Regions from separate parts of the Homo sapiens genome. Here region 1 is linked to region 2. The links are contacts of gene promoters, found by promoter capture Hi-C in blood cells and fetal thymus (Javierre and others, 2016). All regions are on one chromosome and are shown on one strand. The core of a region is centred on a gene start or on the middle of the fragment in contact, and the rest is flanking DNA. Distances in the headings are between cores, read along the strand shown. Region 1 holds the start of SPATA18 (spermatogenesis associated 18). Region 2 holds the start of DCUN1D4 (defective in cullin neddylation 1 domain containing 4).

Region 1 (5,817 bases), core at 1,301-3,800, 210 kb after region 2:
TAGCCCGCTTGAATTTCTCCTCTGAAAATGGGATTTTCTTTTATATTGCGTTGTCAGGCTGCAAATTTTCTGAACTTTTATGCTCTGCTTCCCTTTCAAAATGGAATGCCTTTAACAGCACCCAAGTCACCTCTTGAATGCTTTGCTACTTAGAAATTTCTTCTGCCAGATAACCTAAATCATCTCTCTCAAGTTCAAAGTTCCACAAATCTCTAGGTCAGGGGCAAAATGCTGCCAGTCTCTTTGCTAAAACATAAAAAGAGTCACCTTTGCTCCAGTTCCCAACAAATTCCTCATTTCCATCCACCTCAGCCTGGATTTCATAGTCTATATCATTATCAGCATTTTGGTCAAAGCCATTTGACAAGACTCTAGGGAGTTCGAAACGTTCCTACATTTTCCTGTCTTCTTCAGAGTCCTCCAAACTGTTCCAACCTCTGCCTGTTACTCAGTTCCAGAAAGTTACTCAGTTCCTAAAGTGCTCCACATTTTTGGATATATTTTCAGTGGCGCTGCAATCCCCATAAGAATTTACTGTATTAGTTGGTTTACAAGCTGCTGAGACGGGGCAATTTACAAAAGAAAGAGGTTGAATGGACTTACAGTTCCACATGGCGAGGGAGGCCTCACAATCATGGTGGGAGGCAAGGAGGAGCAAGTAACATCTTATATGGGCGGCAGCAAGCTTGTGCAGGGAAAATTCCCTTTTTCAAAACCACCAGATCTTGTGAGACTTACTCACTATCACGAGAATAGTACAGGAAAGACCTGACTCCATGGTTCAATTACCTCTCACTGGACCCCTCCCACAACACGTGGAATCCAAGATGAGATTTTGGCAAGGACTCAGCCAAACCATGTTAGTAACTGTTTGGGGTAACTTTTTTCTGAATAAGTTTTCATACAAACAATTCATATTCATGATAGAAACTTGAAAAAATCAGAAAAATATAAAAGAGCAATTAAAATAACCCACAATTATACCTTGGGTTCACATTGTGTAATTTAACACAGTGTATACAATTTAGTGTTCTGCCTTTTTCGTTATAGTGAAAATTTGTAGATAGTATATATTCTACAACAACAAGATTTTTAGTGTGCAACATTTCATTATTTGCTTAACCATTACCCTATTGTTGGAGGTTTAGATTGTTTACAACTAGTTTTCTTTATTAAATATAAACATACTAATCCACATTCTTAATAATAGCAAATGTAGGCCAGTATTAGTTTATATTTAATAAACAGCAATTACTAGAGCAATTGCTACTGCATTTTGCCAAGCATTGTACTAAATACATGAATTATCTTACTAAGTTTCATAATAATCCTATGAGAGAATTATTTTCCTTTTACAGATGATGAAACCAAGGATTACAGGCTAATTAAGGTGCTCACAGCAAGGAAAAATCCTTTACCTCTAATTTATCTGACATAAATGTTCCAATATGGGTTTTTATGAATAAGTAAATGGGACTGTTCAAAGATTCCAAATGCCTGTAGAAATATGTAATTATTAGGTCCAAATTGAGAAATTTGAAGTTTTTCTCAATTCATTTTACATATATATATATATATATATATATATATATATGAAGTTGTTTAATGAATATTTAGCTGTTTTGTTGAGTGGGTATTTTTAACATTAGAAATTATTATTCTACTCCAATCAAATAACATGTTATACCCCTATAGTCCTTATTTTGTGGTCTACAGAAAATAGTAGGAACACAGGCTCCAAAACTGAGCCTTTCATTTTCATTAGCAGATAGTAAAGCCACTGTAATCAAGAGAAATAAAAAATGAGAGGTGGTGAAAATTCTTGATTTTACAATACTTGAATATATGCAGTGTTCACAGATTTTCAAGTACCTACAGAGATGAAACTAAGTTAAACTAGCTAGCTAACCAGCTGAGGCTCTGCTCCCCACCGCTGTTTTAATGAATGGATAGGAATGATTTATAATCAGCACATTTTTTGATGGTATATAAAAGAGCTTGCTTCGAAAGCGCTTAAAGATGGTCGAAATGGTTTCCTAAGTAGTTGAACCTGTTTCTGTAGCAGAATACACACTTTTGAAATAGTGCCAAACTAGGTCAAGAAAGTCCCAATTAGAGAATTCAGAATTAAATGAAGCTTTAGAGTGCTCAATGACTCTAAAAAAAAAAGTACTAAAATACATACTGCCAAATCTTATCCAAACCTGAGGGATTAACTTTAATTTGTGAACATCCTGGAGCTAAACTCTATTAACTTGGGTACCCACCCAGTGGGTCAAGGAACAAAGTAAAAGCTAGAAGTAAGAAGTACTGAAATTTTAGTTACAAGTTTCATACAGGTAAACCCAAGGCGCTACAAATGAAGAATTAAAGGAATGAAAGGCGAAAGAATAAAGGGGCCAAAGAGGTGATCTCCTGAGAGCCTAGCCCCAAACTTCTATAGAGACTTAACTTCTGCTTTTCTGGACACGCGTGGGCACCCAGAACCCCGAATGGGGAGGAATGCTGTAGACGCCCTGCTGCCCTCCAGCCCGCGCGGCTGCGCGTCTCAGTCCACCCCTGGGGCGCGCGGCTGTCACCCAGGGCGGGGCGGCGCGGGCGTTGCCACGACGCGGGCCGCGCGCGTCCCTGGCAGCCAACCCGTCCACGTCAAGGTTTGTTTAATAATCGCCAGGGTATCTATGGCCGGGCTCAGGCGGCTGCTGGGGAGCCAGGAGACCGCGCGGGACGGCGGATGAGGCGCGGCGGCTGCGGCCCAGGGCACCTCCCCTCTGGCTTCCCGAACCCGGCCAGGTCCGACCCGAGGGGGAGGATGGAAACACCTGCCGCGCTCTGAGCCCCCCAGAAGAGAACACCCTTCCCGCCATATCACCCCACGGTCCTGCGGAGGCCACCGCCTGGTCCCCCCAAGTCTCCATCGCGCAGCGTGGGGCCGAGAGGAATAGTGAGCGATGGCGGAAAACCTGAAAAGACTGGTCTCAAACGAAACTTTACGAACGTTGCAGGAAAAGCTAGACTTCTGGCTGAAGGAGTACAACGTGAGTCTGGGTGAAAAACCCCCGGGGTTCGCCCTCCCATAGGTTCCAGCACAGCCCTTGTCGGGGATTTCTTAGGGCTGGAGTTGGTGGCCACTTTGCAAAGCCTCCGCGGTTGCGATTCCTAACCAGGATCTCAGCTTTCGACCGGGATCGCTGGGGAAGGAAGGACATGTGTGTACATGCCCTTGTCTCAGAGCTTCGGGAGGCGGCGCGCAGGCGGCCTGCGGAGCGCAGCACTAGGCTGCGGAGACTGGAGAGTGCTTCCAATCAGTGGTAACTAAGGACGCCGGCGACCTAGCAATAGGGAAGCCCTGCTGTCCGCGGCTGGTCTGGTCATGCCTGCCACTCTTTCCCATCCCCCTTGCCAGCGCAATCCACACCGCCTGCTTCCCCAATCCCGAATTATTTTTTACTACAACCCTCTCCTGCCCAGGGTTTGTATCAGAATGGATTTGTATAAACACACACCCAGGAGTTATTTACCCAGAAATCAGCGAAACGGACACTTGTTAACGTTGCGGGTTTCACTTGCGTGCTGGTGGGCCTGGAAATTGAGGCACAGTTCCAACACCAGGGCGGATTCAGGCCTTTTTCCAGGCATTTGTGAGAAGCCAGTATTCTGTCACCAAACCCATGAGCACTTTTCAAATCTCATTAATCCCTACTCGCACCCTGCCTCCCCATAATTCCCCCCTTCCCCCAAATAGAACGGTGAGTGTTGAATTTGCTTTACATTCGGTCGGTCCGTCTTAAATAGGGATTTCCCCTCTTACATAATAAGTGGAGCGGCCAGGCAAAAGAACTGTGGACCGGAAATTAGCCCCCCCTTGTTTCTACATTTGGCTCTGCATAGAACTAGCTGAATGACGGAGTCAAATTATTTAACTTCTCTTGGTCTTAGTACCTCATCTGTGAAATAGCAGAGATTGGTCTAGATGATATGTAAATTTCCTGTTCAGATTTTAAGTTTTTGAGCCTAGATTAGCTTGTTTCTGAGATCCTGCCTGTTATGAGGTCCTTAGGCTTCCCCATTCACCCTTTAACCAGTGCTCCTGAAGTGGAGGGGAGCTCAAAGAGCAGCTACAGCTTTCTCCTTAGCCTTCCTTTCTAGTGCTTCCTGTTCAGTCCTTTGCTCCCTTTTAAAGAACAAGCGCTGACCATTCCTTCTCCATTAAGAATTCTGGAAAGTTAAAATGACCTCTTTATCATAAAAGACTTGGGTTCCCCCCAACTAATTTTAAAAGTACCTACTACTTAGTCTCAGGAGGTTGAGAATAAGAAATTCTAACATGTATACAGTATTTACCCCTTTTTTTTTGCCCAGTGGCCTAACTAAACTCTGAATTTTAAAAAAACATGTTGTTTGTCACAATGTTTATTACAAATAACACTAGGATTTGTCTGGAACTAATAAACAATTATTTTAGAAACTCCCTGTAAGTGATGAGAAGTGCCTTAGTTTATTACATTTTCCTGTCTTGATAACATCCCATTCTCTGCTCTCATTAAAACCATTTCCATCCAGCTGTTTTCCCTTCATCTCTCTACAGTAGAGGCTGCACTCACAGCCACCAGTGTTTTTCATACCTTGTGGCCACTCCCCAGGTTCCATCATTTCTCTTGAGTTTGCAGGCATCATTATCACATTGGAATGTTGACACCTGTATTCTTCCCCCTCCACTCCTGCTTCATCTGTTACAAGTATGCTGATGAATCTTATTTCTATAGGATGTGTTCCCATCTGAGCTCTCACTTCTCCAACTGCCCATTGGACATCTTTCAATAGTGAATGCTATTGAAATGCTCAGAATGCTCAAAGTCAAATCTGTCCAAAATGGAATTTAGCCTCTCCCATGCCCCAACCACAGGTCTCATTTTTCTAAGTCGTCTTCATCATTATATACTCCACTCCCTTTTCACCATCATAATCTGTTGGTTCTAACTTCAAAGTTCATACGGAATCTAAACACTTTTCACCACCCCCACTGCTACCACCCTTCTCCATCCTTGATCATCTTTCACCTGGATTATTACAAAAATAACAACCCAAAGAGATGCTTCTAAATGTCAAGTCAGATCAAGTTACTCTTTTTGCAAGACACTCCAAATTTCCTATTTCAGTCAGAAGAAGCCAAAGCTCCTACAGTGACCTTCAAAGTCCTACACAATTGTGCCCCTTTAAGCTCTTTAACCTTATCTGTTACTCTCTCCCTTGCTCAGCCCACTCCAGCAGTACCAGCTTTCTTGCTCGTCCTAGAGCAATGCTGTCCAATAGAACTTTCTATGATGATGGACAGGTTCTATATCTGCATTGTCCAATAAGGTGACTATTGGGCACTTGAAATGTGGCAAGTACACACTGAAGAACAGAATTTTTAATTTGACTTAAGTCCAATTTAAATTCAGATAGCCACATGCAGCTCATGGCTGCTGTCTCAGACAGCACAGTTCTAGAGATGTGGACATGCTTCTGCTTCAGGGCATTTGCACTCACTGTTTTCTCTGCCTGAAAAACTTTTCACCTGTTGATATTTGAGTGAGATAGTAACATCCTCACTTTCTTAGGAGAGCTTTATTTCTTAGAAAGGGTAGCAACCTGCAGGCTGGGAAGCAGGCCCCTGCTGAAACCAGAGGCAGGCACTTGGAGGTAGGAAAGGTAAGGCAGGAATTAATGATGAATGGGTTGGCCACATGTATACATATTCAACAGGTAATATTCACGAAGGGGGAACGCTCACAAGCATAGTAAGCAAACATGCATGTTACGTTCATCCTATAT
Region 2 (5,578 bases), core at 518-3,017:
CCTGAGCCGCGGTTTAGCCAATGGAGAAGGCGAGATGGGCGGGCTGGGAGTGCCCGGCGGCGGGTCCTCAGCTTCGAGCCGAGGTGCAGTGAGCTGGTGGGGGGACCGCGAGGCGAGCGCGGGAGCCTGGGCGGCGAGCCGGGTGTGAGCTGCCTGAAAATGCACTCGGATGCCGCCGCTGTCAGTGAGTAGCAGAGAGCCAGCCAGCGGGCCGGGGCCGGGCGGCTGCCAAACTCGCCACTCGGCTCCCGCAGTCCCCGCCCCACGCCTCGGGTCCCGAAACGCGCCGGGAGCCCCTGCCTGGGAACCACCCCTTCCCCTCCCGGGGCCGGGGCGGGCGGTGACGCTGCGGGCGGCGTGGGGCGGGGGCGGGCGTGGGGGGAAGGGACCGGCCTGCGGGGAGGGCGGAGGTGAGGGGGGTGGGGACTGGCTCTCTTTCAGTGTTGGGGGAAGGGAGGGCTGGACGTGCGATGAAGGGCCGAGATCGGAGTGTCCGGGGTGCATGGAGGTGGAGGCAGCGTTGGGCTGTAGCGGGCAGGGCCGGGGATGTGGGGGGGTGGCACCGGCGGGGAGAGGGAGGGAGCGAGCGAGCGAGCGGGGCACAAGGGTGAGGATTTCCAAAGGGCTGAGTGGTGCGGGCGGCTCCGTGAGAAAGGCGGGTGAGTGCGAGGGGGGCGCGGGGGCGGGGACAATGGGAAGAAGGGCTGGTTGGCGGGGGGGTGGGGGGGGGGCGGCGAACAATGGGGTGGGGGAATGGGGGCAGCGGCCGAGCGGGGCAGGAGGGCGGGCGACTGGACGAGGGCTGATGTAACGGGAAAGCGAGGTGGTGGGAGGGACTGGGGTGTAATGGTAGTTGGGGAGTCCTGCGGGGCGGGAGGGGCGTTGGAAGGGCGGTGGGTAACGGAGAGTGGTGGGAGTGGAAGATGTTGGGGTAAAGAGATGGGGCAGGTGTGGAAGGGTAGGGCGATTGGGAGGAAGAGGAGAAAAAGGTGGGTAGGATTTGGGGTGGCAGAGTGGGGGCAGGGGTGGAGAATATGAAATGGGGGTGAGGAGCTAGTCGGGGAGGAAGGGGAGGTGGGGCGGAGTTGGGCAGGAGGACTGTCACGTCCAGATTCGGTCCGGAGCCGGGCTAAGGGGGTGTCAGACTGTGCTTAGGGGAGGTACTTCCTCTCCCTGTCGAGGCAGGGTCCCTTGAAGGGGGGAGTCCAAGCTTCGGGGTGCGGAGAGAGGAGGGGGCGGGGCTGAGGTGGAGGAGACGGGGTAAGTGCCCTAAGGTTGGAACTGGCCGTGGTTCCCCCCGGACGGCGGGAAGCGAGGTCAGCGCTGGCGCGGGCTCCGGCAGCGGGACTAGGAGGCGGGGCAGGGGTGCGGGCTGCGGGGTTTCAGCAGCGGGAGCCGGAGGGGTCGGGCCCTGATGGCCGGGTCGGGGGCTTGGCGCCGGGGAGGTGTCGGGGTCCCTGGCAGTCCGTGGGTTTGATAGTCTGTGACGCAGTTGTCTAATTTCTGGCTATCAGGTGTGGGGGTTGGTGCCATGGAACCCGCTTCCTTAGAGGGATGGCCGGGCCCTAGGCCGCGCCCCACGCCCGGGGGGCGCGACTTCTCCCAGGCGTGCTGGGAGGGCGCTTGAGGGGTTTCCTTTAGGGTTTGTCTCCAGTCAACGGGTATGAAGGGGAAAGGCGGTCCCGCCGAATTCTGGGACTTGTAGTCGCGGCCGCGCCCGGCCGCGGTTGGGTTGGGTGCACGTGGGTAACTGTGGAAACGGGTCCCGGCATGCAGCGCGCCCTTGGAGCCTTCCTGCTCGGCCAACTCGTGCTTTATTCCCCGGCCAGCTCCTGCGCGCTCTCGGGAGGCGGTTGAGTTCCCAGGGACGGAGCGACTCCCCAGCCCTTCTCCCTTGGGAGAGGGAGAGCCCACGCCAGGCGCAGCCCTCTTCACGCTTAGGTTCTTGGTCCCCAAGTGAATTTCCCCCTGCATTTTGTGGCCTTACTTGTGGAATAAATGCTTGGTCTTGTACCATCATGCGCACGGGTTGTGGGAAAACATTTAAGAAGCAACACAATGTAAAGCAGCCTTTAGAATGGTGTATTTAATTTTGGCATCCAGTGTGTGTAAGCACTGGGTTCCAGCATTCCCTTGCATAAATATGAGAACACAGTGGAGGTACACGTAACCCTTGTAACGATAATATAAACTATGTGTTGGTATTTCTTGGGGTGTTTGAAAAAATAACTGTCTTGAAATGAGTGATGGAGGTGGGTTAGTGGAATTTAGGGTGGAAATGTGAAGGTGAGCAAAGGTAATATGTGACGTCTTCAATTTTCGAAGAAGCTTGGAAAGCAAATGAGAATAGAAGAAAACTGTAAAAAGTGGAGAACCATAAGACTTTTTTTGTTTGCTTGTTTTATTATTAGCTGCAGGCTGCAATTCCTTCTCTCCTTAATACTAGAAACCTTCCTCTCCATAAGTAGACTCCCTAAACGTCACATCCTTCACCAGTTCCCTTTACTGTTTACAGGGAAGGGACTCCAGAATCTGTAATGTAGAAGGCTAAGATTAATGCAGAGATGATAGATTTTTGTATGTAATATATAAGGTATTATGAAACTACTTGCAACATAGTCATTAGAAGAATATTGTAATTTTTCTGATGATAAAAATATTACCAAGAAGTCCTAAGATTTGTAAACCTTTTGGTGTGGTTACAAACATACTGAACTTGGATACTTGATTGTTTGATGGTTCTTTTCATGATGAGTGAAAAATTGGGCAATGTGTGTGGTGTTCTTGTGGAGATCATTTATATCTATCTGTCATATTTTACTTAATCGTGTGGTGAAATATCCAGGAAACTCTTGGTAATATAAAAATATGTACAAAAATGTGCACTTAACTCTGGAATTTTTTCTTGCAGAGGGTAAAGTGATGAGGTTGAAAAACATGCAAGAGCTATAATTGTCTTCAAAATGGTGTTTTTAAAGAAAATATGAAGCTAGTCATAGCTTTCTCTTTTTCTTTTGTTCTATTATATCCCAAAGGGCAGGTGCTTTTTATACACATATAGCCCACCTCCCTCCATTCCCCAAAGCCCTAGGCTCCTACACACTTTCTGCTCTGGTTTTTAGGTTCCTTTTTGATTTTTGGCGCTTGGGGAGGTCCTTTATTTTCTTGTGAACGTAGCTGTGCATTTAAACAGATGTTTCTTACACGTTATCCAGAATTTTTGACTGTTTTATATTAAGAAGGATTTTTAGGTAATCTTGTCTGTAACATTGCCAGAAAAGAAGGCCTGCCTCATTTTCTCTTAGTGGACTTCACTCTCTTCTTCCTCTGTTGTTAACTCTGTGTACCCCTACTGGCACTTAATCATGTTTTTTCAAACTTTATCATTGTCTCCTTTTCTGTTTTTATGTTAAGTTGCTCCCAGCAGCTCTTCTTGGCTTATTACCTTCTTCCTGGCTACGTTTACATTATTATCTCAATCATCATCTGCTAATTATAACTAATAATTAATAGCTAATAATCCTGCTAACTTAGCAGTATAAAAATCAACCTGTGAGAAACTGACCTCATGATGATCTCTTGTATCAGTTAGGATGCCTTTGCCAATACAATGCTCAAATTAATGGCTTAAATAATAGGGCTTATTATTGTTCGGTAGCAAGAAACCTAGAAGTAGTTGGTTCTAAAGCTGGTGCAGTGGCTTAATGATGTCATTAAGGATCTAGGTTCTGCATCTTTTTCTTCTTCTATTAGTGTTTTAGCTTTTATTCCTCAGGCTCATTTGCCTCATGTTTGCAGTATGGTTGCCGTAGCACCAGACATCATGCCTGGATTGGAAAGCAGGGAAGGAAGGTGCATATTTCCTTATAACTCCCTGTTAACAGAGAAGTCTTTTGCAGAAACTCACTTTGGAGAGTTCCATTTCAGTGTCATTGGATTGAACTGATCTCATGCCACTGCTAGCTGTGAGGAAGCCTGACACAGTGAATGTCTGGCATTTACCAGCATCTCTTGTAAGATATGGCCTTTCGTAGGGTGGAAGAAGGGTGAGAAGAATGCGCTGGGTTGGCAACTTGCAGGTTATATCCCTGAACCAGCTACTTTGGCCAGCTGTCTCTGGCTTGGTCTCAACCTTTACGTTGATTTATTTTCTGCCTTATTCTAAAAGAATTAGGGGTGACTTGCTAAATATAGATAAAACCCTGTCAAGAGAAGAAAAATTTATATATAGACTTGTAAGGTACACAGAAACACTTGCCATATGTTAGAAATATTTGGCACTGAGCTTTTTAATAGTCAAAGAAGAGAACAAAACTAATAAATTTTATTCATTTGGTAAATGAAGCTGCAGTAATTTTAATAACCCACACTGAAATCCTGGACATTTCTTATCCTCTTCTTCCCTGGTCAGTGGCAAGGAGAGATTGCATCTCTTCCCATGCCCAGCCTCTCTTTCCCATACCTATTGCCATGGCCTTATGTCTGAGACAGCCTTTCTTACAGTGTTATAATAACCAGCAATACATTTTTCTTTCTTTTTTGTTTTTTTTTTTTTAGAGGTTGGGTCTTGTTATGTTGCCTAGGCTGGACTCGAACTCTGGGCTTCAGGGGTCCTTCCACCTCAGTCTCTGAGTAGCTGAAGTTATAGATGCACGCCACTGCACCCGGCTCCAGCTGCCCTCAGTGCTGCTGTTTTAGAATTTTTCTTTACTGTGCTCCCTCTCTAGCAGACTCTCCTTTCATGGAATCTCTGAAGCAGTGCTTCCTTCTGTTACTCAGTTTTATGTTACATAACAATAGCTGCTTGTTTACTTTTATTTCCCCTCCCCAATTAGATTATTACCTTTTTGAGATCTGGGACCATGTCTTACCCAGTATCCACTTTAGCATCTAGCATGATGCCTTGCATAGCTACCCAAATATGTATTGAATTGAACTTAAATGATCAACTATTGAATAACTTGTGCATTATCTAGAAAAATTAATTCTTCCTGTTCCTGTTGTCTTTCATTATCTTTAGATTTTTCTTCAAGGAACACAAGCTTTCACCTACTCATTCTTTGCATTTTTTAGACAAAGTCAGTTGTATGCAAACTAATTTAATATTTTTCAAACATGCAGATATCAGTTTTAGAGAATGTGGCGTGGAGAAATTCTCAAGGAAAGAGTAAAATGCTGGTGATGTGCTGAGGGAACAGAAGGAGTGTTTGTGAATGTGCACACGTCCGTTTCTGGTCTCTCGTGTCAGCGTCCTACCTGCACAAGGTTAAGGCAGCATTAACAGGTCTGATGTTAAGGGGCCTAGAGTGTTTGTCCTTTTCCCTTCTTTTTGTTTTATATCCATATTCTGGTCCTAAGGATTTATTTCTTAAGTTAACAATATAGTGAGATCACTGAAAGTCTTTCTTCAGATTTACAGAGTAAAATTTTCTTTGATGAATCTGACATAAATGCTGGTAAATTTTTATAGTTGGTCAACTCGAATTGGTATTAATTCTTCTCATAGCTTGCTTTTTTTCTTTTGAAATTTACATTAGGAGAAGTACCTCTTGAGAAGTATTCTAAGCAGAACATGTAT

Evidence for each region. Contacts are between HindIII fragments. The CHiCAGO score rates a contact against its expected background, and 5 or more counts as called.
Region 1: a contact is called between the fragment with the promoter of SPATA18 here and a fragment that was not itself captured in region 2, in 3 of 17 cell types (monocytes, M0 macrophages and total B cells). The highest score is 8.6, in monocytes.

What each region holds. Positions count from the first base shown.
Region 1 is chr4:52,048,754-52,054,570 of GRCh38, forward strand. SPATA18 (spermatogenesis associated 18) reads left to right here and starts at 2,551. Exons shown (of 13, transcript NM_145263.4): 1 at 2,551-3,038. The coding sequence starts at 2,952. RefSeq lists enhancers at 2,200-2,701, 2,702-3,201, 2,994-3,343 and a silencer at 2,524-2,823. The HindIII fragment of the contact is 3,697 bases long and covers 2,136-5,817 here.
Region 2 is chr4:51,843,084-51,848,661 of GRCh38, forward strand. It overlaps DCUN1D4 (defective in cullin neddylation 1 domain containing 4), which reads left to right and starts at 70. Exons shown (of 11, transcript NM_001040402.3): 1 at 70-184. The coding sequence starts at 160. RefSeq lists silencers at 1-7, 98-447, 548-627, 1,178-1,297. The HindIII fragment of the contact is 1,118 bases long and covers 1,209-2,326 here.